2 separate regions of the Homo sapiens genome follow, and region 2 is linked to region 1. The links are contacts of gene promoters, found by promoter capture Hi-C in blood cells and fetal thymus (Javierre and others, 2016). All regions are on one chromosome and are shown on one strand. The core of a region is centred on a gene start or on the middle of the fragment in contact, and the rest is flanking DNA. Distances in the headings are between cores, read along the strand shown. Region 1 holds the start of ENPP4 (ectonucleotide pyrophosphatase/phosphodiesterase 4). Region 2 holds the start of TNFRSF21 (TNF receptor superfamily member 21).

Evidence for each region. Contacts are between HindIII fragments. The CHiCAGO score rates a contact against its expected background, and 5 or more counts as called.
Region 2: a fragment that was not itself captured here is called in contact with the fragment with the promoter of ENPP4 in region 1 in 1 of 17 cell types (fetal thymus); the score reaches 5.7 in fetal thymus.

Annotation. Positions count from the first base shown.
Region 1 is chr6:46,127,806-46,133,653 of GRCh38, forward strand. It overlaps ENPP4 (ectonucleotide pyrophosphatase/phosphodiesterase 4), which reads left to right and starts at 2,184. Exons shown (of 4, transcript NM_014936.5): 1 at 2,184-2,384. It also overlaps a transcript of CLIC5 not described here. The HindIII fragment of the contact is 7,807 bases long and covers 1,798-5,848 here.
Region 2 is chr6:47,306,993-47,312,338 of GRCh38, forward strand. It overlaps TNFRSF21 (TNF receptor superfamily member 21), which reads right to left and starts at 2,913. Exons shown (of 6, transcript NM_014452.5): 1 at 2,424-2,913. The coding sequence starts at 2,519. RefSeq lists enhancers at 1,864-2,586, 2,750-2,929, 2,881-3,175 and a silencer at 2,380-2,609. The HindIII fragment of the contact is 3,170 bases long and covers 1-2,855 here.

The DNA.
Region 1 (5,848 bases), core at 934-3,433:
ATTAAAGGAGACAGTTGCTGAAGACTTCTAAGAGACAGAAGAAATCTAGACGTCATTTCTATCACCCAGTGGAAGTGAAAAATGAATTACATGGTTCCTGTTGCTGCTGGTAGTTATATTTACCACTAAAGGAACCAGAAGTCTACTCTGTTAAAAGCCAAGTGTAAAGCTGCAAAGAACTGAGTACATTATGAAATCGTTGAGTTGCTAACTCAACCAGTCCTGAAGTCTGCCTTACCTCTGGACTTCTTGTTCCACAAGACGATAAATATCCTTACTATAACAGGATTTTGGTTGTGGTTGAAATGGTAAATATATAGAGGATAACAAAAGTTTAGGGCCAAAGGTCCTTATGTGTCATTTTGTCCCTCTGTTCCTGACCACTTTATCTTACAGAGCAAGAGCCCAGGTGGCATGAGACTCCCTAATTTAACCCAGCCACACAGGCAGTAGCAGTGGATAAAGAGAGTCCTCTCCTGATGCCCATCCAGCTGCTATCTTCACCACACATCTGACCTAGATGGCATTCAGTTTTGTCCACCCTTTAAGCATACATATGCACCTACTGAATGAACAAACAGGATATGCACAATACCCCCAAATGCCACAAAATTTAAGTTCTGCTAATCTTAAATGTTATGTCATTGGACATTACCTAAATTCCCCCAAAACTTGGCCTTACCCTGACTATTGTTCAAATTGGGGTACTTTTTTGGTCATAATGATAATAATCCCCAAAACAACATGTGTCAGATACTGTGCTGAATACTCTACTCGCTTTCCTCATTCATTTGATAGTAAGAGGTTGGTATTGTAACAAGACGCGTTTTGCAGATGAGGAAATGAAAGCTCAAATAGGTTGAGACACTGGCCCATGATTGCTCTGCTGGTGAGTGACAGAGTGAGTATTCAAACCAGGTTCTAGGGTCTGCAGGTTCTAGGGATTCAGCTACAGACCCACTACCATCCCCTCCAGCTCTGAAAGCCCATGGATCTAAGATGCCCATATTCACCAATGCACAGGCCAACCTGAGACTTAAAACTGGAATTAATTTATCAAGGCACAAACTAATAATCAACGGAATACATCTATTGCCAAATCATCTCCATGGCTGCTTCCAGATTGTTGGTAATAGCTATACTGTAAGGTTCAGACCAAGGGGACCAACGTCAGAATTTGTTATCTAAGGTCCAGTACTGCAGTTTACTAATCCAGGTACTGGATTTACAGCTATTAAATACTTAACACTTGAGGATATCACATGTGATTAATATTCTTAATTTATTTGTACTTTTTATTTGAGCTGGAGATACAGTAGTGAACAAGAAAGAAAATACCTTCTGGAGCCTGCATTTTAACAAGCGGGACAATTAAATTCAATAGTGATTTAGCAAGTACTTCTATACCAAGTTCTGTTTGGCACTACAGATAAAAAGAAAAAAGATGCTATCCTCTCACTGCCAAGTGTGCCTGGACAACCCAACTGTTAGCGAATAATTCTACTTCTGTTTGGTAACTGCTCTTTATGTTGGAAAGTTTAGTTACATTATTCTATTAAATAACCTTCCAATTAAAAGCAGGAGCACAATCCCACATACGCGTCTGTCAAAGTAAGCACCCATTTCTCAGCTGTAACTCATTACTGGTTCCCTGCCGCAGGCACTGTGCTGCTTTTAACCTTACTTGTAAACTATTACCTAACTTCCCCGGTAAAGGTGCTCGCTTATCCAGTAAGACGGACAGACGTCTATGGTAGATCCACGTTTCATTTATCCCAACTCACTGGAACTGGCTGAAGCTTCTCCAGACTTGTGCCGGACCTTGGTGCAGCCAAAGTTGCTTTCTCCGCGGCCACCTAAGCTGCCAGGTGCACATTAACTAAGTGGCAGAAGGCCATCGGCTTGGCAATTGCCTGAGGCCTTTCCGGGACTCGCTGGTTTTTAGGTTCCATGAAGGGCATCCAGATCTAGGATGATACGAAAAGTGCGTGGTGGGAGAGTGGAATCAACCTCTACTCTTAGGTCCGATACAACCCCTCCAAGCACCTGTCTAACCAATCGGAAAGAAAGTTACATTCAACGCTGGTTCTAGCATCCAATCCAAGGACGTGTTTCAGACTCTGCTGCCCGGTCCCAGCCAGCCCTGAGCTGGCGCCTTAGACGCTCGCCTGGCAGCTGCGCACACTCGGAGCGCCCCGAGCGGCGCAGATAGGGACGTTGGGGCTGTGCCCCGCGGCGCGGCGCCTGCCACTGCGCAGGCGCCTCAGGAAGAGCTCGGCATCGCCCCTCTTCCTCCAGGTCCCCCTTCCCCGCAACTTCCCACGAGTGCCAGGTGCCGCGAGCGCCGAGTTCCGCGCATTGGAAAGAAGCGACCGCGGCGGCTGGTGAGTACGCGCCTCGCGCGCTCGGCGTTCTGGGGGGCAATGTCACCCCCTCTCCAGTCCCCTAGGGGCTTTGAAAATAGAGATGGTGAGACCAGACCCTATGACCCACTCTCCCCCACTACACGCACATCCCCTGGGGCGCGGCGGGGACGTCCACGAAGGGACTCAAAGAGCCAGGGAGGTGGCGGGCCGAGGCGGAGGCCAGGAAGGGAAGAGGAAAGAAAAATTAGCAGGTGCTGGGGAAGGCAACCTGTGGTGTTAAGTGTGAAGGGAGGGAAGTCAGCCGAACGGTAGTGGAGGAACCTAAGGTGGGTCTGGGGTAAAATTGAGGGGAGCTGGGGCGGGGTCGCCAGGCTTTTGGTTTTAAAGGAGAACCACCCATGGCATCGACATCCGTCTGTCTGAATATTAGATTAGAGTTTATGTTAATTATAGATAATGATATTTAAGAACTAATTTCCTGGAAAACAAGCCAACCAAACAATAAAAGGTACATTTAAGTGCCTTTTTAAAGGGCTGGATTAAAAGCACGTAAGGACTTAAAAACAATGCTTCCTTTTCTTGTCACAACCACCCTATGAGATCATAGCATTCCCATTTTACAGATGACGAAAGTCAGGCTCAGAGAAGTGAAGGGACGCGTCCAACCAAGATTGTACAACTAGTGACAGGCAGATTCAGGTTTACACCAGATCTGACTCCAGAAGGGCTTTGCTTAATCAGGCAATCTTGTGGACCCAAGTCTGAAGGAAGATTTGCCAACTACTGTGAAATATCAACTGCTGGTTTCAGTATTATGAGCTTCTATTTCTTCTTTTTTCCCCTCAGAGATTGTTTCAATCTGTTTTAAGGAAATTAAGAGGCCTGCTGCACTTGTGCGTCTTCCCCCCACCTCCACTTAAATTAGTTACAGGATATAATTTGGAAGACATTTTTTTTTATGGTCTCAGGTCTTAGATTTATTTATTTATTAATTATTATTATTATACCTTAAGTTTTAGGGTACATGTGCACAATGTGCAGGTTAGTTACATATGTATATATGTGCCATGCTGGTGCGCTGCACCCACTAACCCATCATCTAGCATTAGGTATATCTCCCAATGCCATCCCTCCCCCTTCCCCCCACCCCACAACAGTCCCCAGAGTGTGATGTTCCCCTTCCTGTGTCCATGTGTTCTCATTGTTCAATTCCCACCTATGAGTGAGAATATGCAGTGTTTGGTTTTTTGTTCTTGCGATAGTTTACTGAGAATGGATTTCCAATTTCATCCATGTCCCTACAAAGGACATGAACTCATCATTTTTTATGGCTGCATAGTATTCCATGGTGTATATGTGCCACATTTTCTTAATCCAGTCTATCATTGTTGGACATTTGGCTTGGTTCCAAGTCTTTGCTATTGTGAATAATGCTGCAATGAACATATGTGTGCATGTGTCTTTATAGCAGCATGATTTATAGTCCTTTGGGTATATACCCAGTAATGGGATGGCTGGGTCAAATGGTATTTCTAGTTCTAGATCCCTGAGGAATCGCCACACTGACTTCCACAATGGTTGAACTAGTTTACAGTCCCACCAACAGTGTAAAAGTGTTCCTATTTCTCCACATCCTCTCCAGCACCTGTTGTGTCCTGACTTTTTAATGATTGCCATTCTAACTGGTGTGAGATGATATCTCATTGTGGTTTTGATTTGCACTTCTCTGATGGCCAGTGATGGTGAGCATTTTTTCATGTGTTTTTTGGCTGCATAAATGTCTTCTTTTGAGAAGTGTCTGTTCATGTCCTTCGCCCACTTTTTGATGGGGTTGTTTTTTTCTTGTAAATTTGTTTGAATTCATTGTAGATTCTGGATATTAGCCCTTTTTCAGATGAGTAGATTGTGAAAATTTTCTCCCATTTTGTAGGTTGCCTGTTCACTCTGATGGTAGTTTCTTTTGCTGTGCAGAAGCTCTTTAGTTTAATTAGATCCCATTTGTCAATTTTGGCTTTTGTTGCCGTTGCTTTTGGTGTTTTAGACATGAAGTCCTTGCCCATGCCTATGTCCTGAATGGTAATGCCTAGGTTTTCTTCTAGGGTTTTTATGGTTTTAGGTCTAACGTTTAAGTCTTTAATCCATCTTGAATTGATTGTTGTATAAGGTGTAAGGAAGGGATCCAGTTTCAGCTTTCTACATATGGCTAGCCAGTTTTCCCAGCACCATTTATGAAATAGGGAATACTTTCCCCATTGCTTGTTTTTCTCAGGTTTATCAAAGATTAGATAGTTGTAGATATGCGGCGTTATTTCTGAGGGCTCTGTTCTGTTCCATTGATCTATATCTCTGTTTTGGTACCAGTACCATGCTGTTTTGGTTACTGTGGACTTGTAGTATCGTTTGAAGTCAGGTAGTGTGATGCCTCCAGCTTTGTTCTTTTGGCTAAGGATTGACTTGGCGATGCGGGCTCTTTTTTGGTTCCATATGAACTTTAAAGTAGTTTTTTCCAATTCTGTGAAGAAAGTCATTGGTAGCTTGATGGGGATGGCATTGAATCTATAAATACCTTGGGCATTATGGCCATTTTCACGATATTGATTCTTCCTACCCATGAGCATGGAATGTTCTTCCATTTGTTTGTATCCTCTTTTATTTCCTTGAGCAGTGGTTTGTAGTTCTCCTTGAAGAGGTCCTTCACATCCCTTGTAAGTTGGATTCCTAGGTATTTTATTCTCTTTGAAGCAATTGTGAATGGGAGTTCACTCATGATTTGGCTGTTTGTCTGTTGTTGATGTATAAGAATGCTTGTGATTTTTGCACATTGATTTTGTATCCTGAGACTTTGCTGAAGTTGCTTATCAGCTTAAGGAGATTCTGGGCTGAGACAATGGGGTTTTCTAGATATACAATCATGTCGTCTGCAAACAGGGACAATTTGACTTAATTTGGAAGAAATTTTGATGAAAGGACAAGGAGTAATGGAGGGAGGTATTTTACTATGTAGAAAGTAAGATAAGTGTAAGTGTTTTGAAGCTGCTAGAAAACTTTGTGTATGCTAGAAATTTCTGTGTATTTTACAAAATTGGAGAATAATTTAGAATCCTACGATTTTTAAGACTAAGGAATTTTTAAGGAGTATATTTTTTTCCTTAGACTATAAGAAAGCAACTGATAATAATCTAAAGATAACTGCCTTATTTATAGTCATAGAATAAAGTTTTTAAAGGTGTATGAGAGTTTCATTGTATTACAGAGCAGATGGCGTGCTAATAGTGACAAATATCTTTCACCATATCCTGTAATGGTTTATACTCTCTTGGCTTCACATGGGCTAGGAATGCCAGTGAGAGTTGACTGCATTCCATCCAGGGAAGAACGTCTTCCCAGAGAAATTAGAAGGTAGTTTGTCCCCTGAATTGAAGACTAACTCATACTTCCATTTGTTGTAGGGATATTTGGTTGCAGTCCAGAGAGGTCTGCTT
Region 2 (5,346 bases), core at 21-2,520, 1.2 Mb after region 1:
AACAGTATCATGAGATCATCATTTTATACATTAACAAAGCCTGTGCTGTGGACTTGGGCATGCAGAATAAGAATGTGAAAGACAAAAGGCATTTCCTCCCCACCCTGGATGGGGATTATAACATAGTCTCTACTGATTCCTGGCACACCCTCCAGTCACCCTTCAGGATGAAGGGCTGAACCTCATGCCATTTCATGAATTTACCTGAAGTCTTTTTAGCATAGCTAGCAGAAGAATAAGGAATCCTGTATTGGTTATCAACTTGAGACTGCTCCTAAGCCCCATTATAAATTTTATCTTTTTCAAAGTAGCCAAACTTAAATTGTCAGGTCTTTAGTTGCAAATCCAGTGCACAATTTTTAGGGTAGGTTGAGTTTGATGACTTATTTTTTATTTTGGTTTTGGAGACAGGGTCTCACTCTGTCACTCAAGCTGGAGTGCCGTGGCATGGTCACAGCTCACTGCAGCCTCAACATCCTGGGCTCAAGCCATCCTCCCACCTCAGCCTCCTGAGTTGCTGGGCATACAGGCGCACACCACCGCCACACCCACCTAATTTCTTGTAGAGATGGGGTCTCACTATGTTGCCCAGGCAAATCTCGAACTCCTGGACTCAAGCAATCCTCCCACCCTGGCCGCCCAAAACGCTGGGATTACAGGCATAAGCCAGGGTGCCTAGCCTGATGATTCAAGAAAAGGAGCTGGGCCCTTTCTCAGTTAGTTAAGGCAACCTACCATTTGATTACATCAAGACCTTTGTTTAATTACCTACCTCATGCTAAAAGGTAAAATAAATGGAGTATTGCACAATGACTTAAGATTTAATCTGGGAATGGACTCTGTGAGGCATATAATAATCAGATGTGTTAGAAGCACCTGAAACATAGTAGTGGATAGTAGTGGATCTAAAGCTGTGAAAAAGGAAATGATGATAGTTCTCACTCCACTGAACTAGGATCAGTGTTCCCATGGACCTAGATGTGTTTCTCTCCACACCAAGACTGTCAATCCAGGTTCATTGTCCCAAGAGACTCCCCGACTACTGCTTACCATCCACCACACTTGTTTCACTTGTTTCAAAGATATAAACCTTGGCCATGCCATTAATAAGTGGGCAGAAAAGAGTTTCTGAAGGGAGACTGGGACTTGCCTCATTATAAATGCTAACAGTAACAAACTTTTATTTAGTCTCTCTCTTCCTCTTAAAACACACACACAAGGAACCAGAGTGTCTGTAGGATGAATTCCCAGGCCATAGCAACTGCAATGTCCTGAGATCTAAGCAGTTCTTGGCTGGCCAGGCGTTAAGCCCTTTTGGGGAAGGAGACAGCAAGCCTGCTTTTCCCTTACACAGCCCTGTCGTGAAAACAAGCTCTTGTTTCTTGGGGGTTTTTTTGTTCGGTTTTTAGCTAAGAATTTCCATCCCTCCTGCAGTGATAAAAGATAGGCAAGGGAAGCTCAAGGGTTTGATCTCAAATTTTCTTCCACCTAACTTGCCCCTTCACCCCAATATTTGGAAATAAAGGGAGGGAATTTGGGGGAAGTTGAGGGTAAGTTTTTGGTCAAGATGATTGACCCGAGATGTGGATGCAGCTTAGACGATGAGGGAGACTGCACCACCCTGCAGGGTCACCTGCCTAGCCACAGGTAAACGAGGGATCGGAAAGACTGTAGAAAATTCATCTTCCTTCACACACATCTCCTTCCCCCTCCCCCCATTCCAGTGCCGGCGCGCTGGCTGGCTGGAAGCCGGCGCTTTGGAGGCGCCGGAGAGTGGGTCTAAGGGTGATATTTCGGCATACAGAACCTGAGACCCCACCCGAGCCAAGAGGGAAGAGAGAGGGTAAAGGGATTGAGGAGGGGGCGGCTTGCGCCCTGCTCGGGAATGCACCGCGCGACAGCACCCGGAGGTCTCCGGTGTCCGGCGCGCACCGGTACCACTGTCTTCCACTGCGGTAGCATCCCGACATGACATTGCAGCTGCAACAAAGCGCCGGCCTCGGCCGGCCGTGGGAGCCCCACACCGCGGCGAGGCCCCACACCACGCAGAGGGGCAGTGGCCGATGGGTGGGGGGCTGTGGCTGCGGGCGTGGGGAGCGCGAGGTAGGCCGAGTAGGGGGAAAAGCCCTCAAATGCGCAGAAGCTGGGCGGCTACCTCTAGCGTCTCCTCCAGCAAAGCCAGACTGCAAGGAAAACAATTCGTCTTCATTCCCCAGCCCCGGCTGAGCCCTGAGATTCCCCCAAATAACCTAGTCGAGGCCCTCTGGTGTGTTGCCTTCCCTTGGAAACCCCTCAGTGCCCGTAACCCAGTCGGCCGGGCCCCGCGCCTCCCTAAGCCCCGGCCCGGTGACCCGCCCGGCTCCCGGAGAGCGGTTCCTTCTGCTCCGGCGCCGCCGCCACCCCCGGTCCACGCAAGCGCTCACCAGGAGAAGGGAGCCCGCGATCATCGTGGCTGTGGCTCGGCGGGCGATGCGGCTGCAGGAGGCGAGGGCGGTGCTGCTGCTCGGAGAGGTCCCCATGGCTGAACCGGGGACTCGCAGGGGCGCCCGGGGCGCGCGGGGCAGCTGGAATCGGCGGCTGCTTCTGCCCAGCGCCGCATCCACCGCCGCCTCCCGGGCCGGGAGCCCATCTACCTCCAACACCCCATGTGCACTGCTGCGGCCGGGCAGAGGAGGGAGGCGGCAAGGGAGGCTCTAGGGGCGCTCAGCACCTGCCCAGCGGCGCGGCCGCCCAGGCGGGGAGAAGCCGCCGCGACTGCAGCCCGCGTCTCCGGGTGCTCTCCTCCGACAGCGGCTGAGGAGAACCAGGGAGGAGGACTGGGCGCGAGAGAGCAAAGGAACGACTTCCCATAGCGAAGCTTCCAGCCACTGCCAACCACCCTCCTCCGCTGCCCAGACTGGTCGGCGAGGGACTGAGTCGGTGGCCACCGGGCGCAGGGACACACGTGGTGGCGCCGAAGGGGCGGGGGACCGGCCCTTTGTGATGTCACCCGGGAGGAGGCCGGGCTCTTTGTGCGGTTGGAAAGGCGAAGGCGTTCCAGGTAGAGCGGGGAGGGAGAGGGTGCCCCTTGGCGTTCGCTGAGGAAATTGCACGCGCCTGTTGACCCAGGGAAAGCGCTGAGAAAGCATCTCACTCCTGATCTAACTTTACTTATTTTTTCCGAGATAATTCCAACTAAATTATTTCAGCTACATACGCCTTTCCATTGTTTCGGACACGATGATTAAATCAGAGAGCGATGGTGAATAGACCACAGAGCACTTAGATCAACTGCGTGACGAAAAAGGAGACCTGTGTGTTGCTTCTCAAACTTTGCTGCCCTGTGGAATCACCTGGAGAGTTCAAAACATATATATTGATTCTTGGGTCCCACCTCTAGAGACTCTGATTTAATTGGAACAGGACAGGATCTGGTCTGGGCATTGAGGTTTGTTGTTGTTGTTGTTTGTTTGTTTTTTAAGTTTTCAGGGTGATTTTAATATGGGGCAAAGATTTTAATTTTTTATATTTTAATTTTAATATGGGCTTATGAATGCAATTAAGGAAATCCAAACTAAAAGGATTTAAAACCCAGAGTCATTGGTGTTGGGTCCATGGATGGTCTTGGAGGGACTTTTGAACTCCTTGAAATGTATCAAAAGATGCATTTTCCTAATTTAAAAATCAAGAGTTTTGAATCGGATTATCCCTGAGATTTTTTTTAATCACCCTTCCCCCAAAAAATAATGCTAAAAATTTTTGAGTTGATTTCCAAAGGCCTTGTCAGGATGTGGGTGGTAGAATAGGTAGTATTCTGCTTCAGAAGGAGAACTGGAATATTCTCGTGGATGTTGGTATCTCACACACTTCTGAATGTAAGAGAGCAGCTGTTATCCTTTTCTTTGTTTCACCTGGGGGAAGGCCGAGTCTCCTGACTGTGGCCACCATTTCTGGTATCGTGTTATCCATCATCTAGGTACTGACAGCACATGGCACACTGTATTGATATTACCTCTTCAGCCATCCAGTCCACACCCCTCAATTGGGAGCCCTATGGTGCTGGGCTTATCCTAGGCTCCTTTGGTCCCATTTCAAAAGAATCACACTTTTTAAACTATCAGTTTCAAGATCCAACACCCAGTGCTAATAAAGGTAACTTGCTAAGTCATAGGTACCAATTATTTGCTTTATTAGTTAACATGTTGTCCTTTGATTCTTTGCTCTATGCACACTTTGGTAGAAGCTAAAATTAATATGAGGGTTAATTCCAATCTATTATTTCAAACATTTGTCAGTATTGTCTATAAATGTTAGAGTGGGAAAAAAGCTACAATATATAACCTCTAGTGAAATTCAAAGGAGTTCTAGAAAATATTACCATTAATTATGGAGTTTTGGGGAAAGGATGATGGTTGGACTTGCCACTCTCTAGCTATTTTCAGAAGTTGAAAGAGTGAGGGATAGATGCTGTGTTTTCATGCATAACTGTATCAATTTTTTCTTCAAAAATTCAAATGACTGGCCAATACTATTATAAGGTTGGGTTGTTTTTTTTTAAGAAGTTACATAGGTATTAAAGAGGAGGAGGAGCTTCAAATACGTTTTTATTTAGTCCATTTTACTCCTTGCATCCAAACTCACATTTTTCGTGGTAATATATGATTGATTTGCTCTAAAGAGTTGGGCAACTTTAGAGTTTAGTGTCTGGGTTACTATGCAGGTATAAGAAGTTCTTCTCAACTATTTGTCTTCCTAAAACTAAAAGAAAATTGTTTATTTGTGCTTGGACCACTTTGAAACTTCATGAATTCCTGGTGTTCCATTGATCATATCAAGTTGAAATTTAATATACATTTTGAGAGATGAAAAAATTTACTCAATTCTGTTTACTACTAACATTTAAATACATGTCCCTCTATAGAGTGATAGATTATAGATAATTTGAATCTAGATGCAGTGTGAAATTTTATTACTTTGAATTGAAATGTATACATGCCTTCCATTTTGAAGTAACAATGCTGCAACCATTAAATAATTCATTGCCACATTTTCAATGTGGTAACTTAGACATGTCTGTTTTCTGGGAAAGGATAAAAATTCAATGATACATAAGGAAGTTTCTCCCAAAGTTCCAAGGAAAGAGGAGATATGTGTTGATAAATCATAATTATAGCTAAATTTTAAAGGAAGGCCTAAATGAGTTAATCCAATGTCATCTTTGCCATAAAAATTACTCTATCTCCACCCTCCATCCTACCTTTGGACTTTCTCTCTTTCTGCCAATGTTGTACAATTTTTCTAGTTTTCCAACCTCAAAAATCATTGCTAATTCTTTCCTCGTCCTTAGTACATTCCAATTAATGCTTT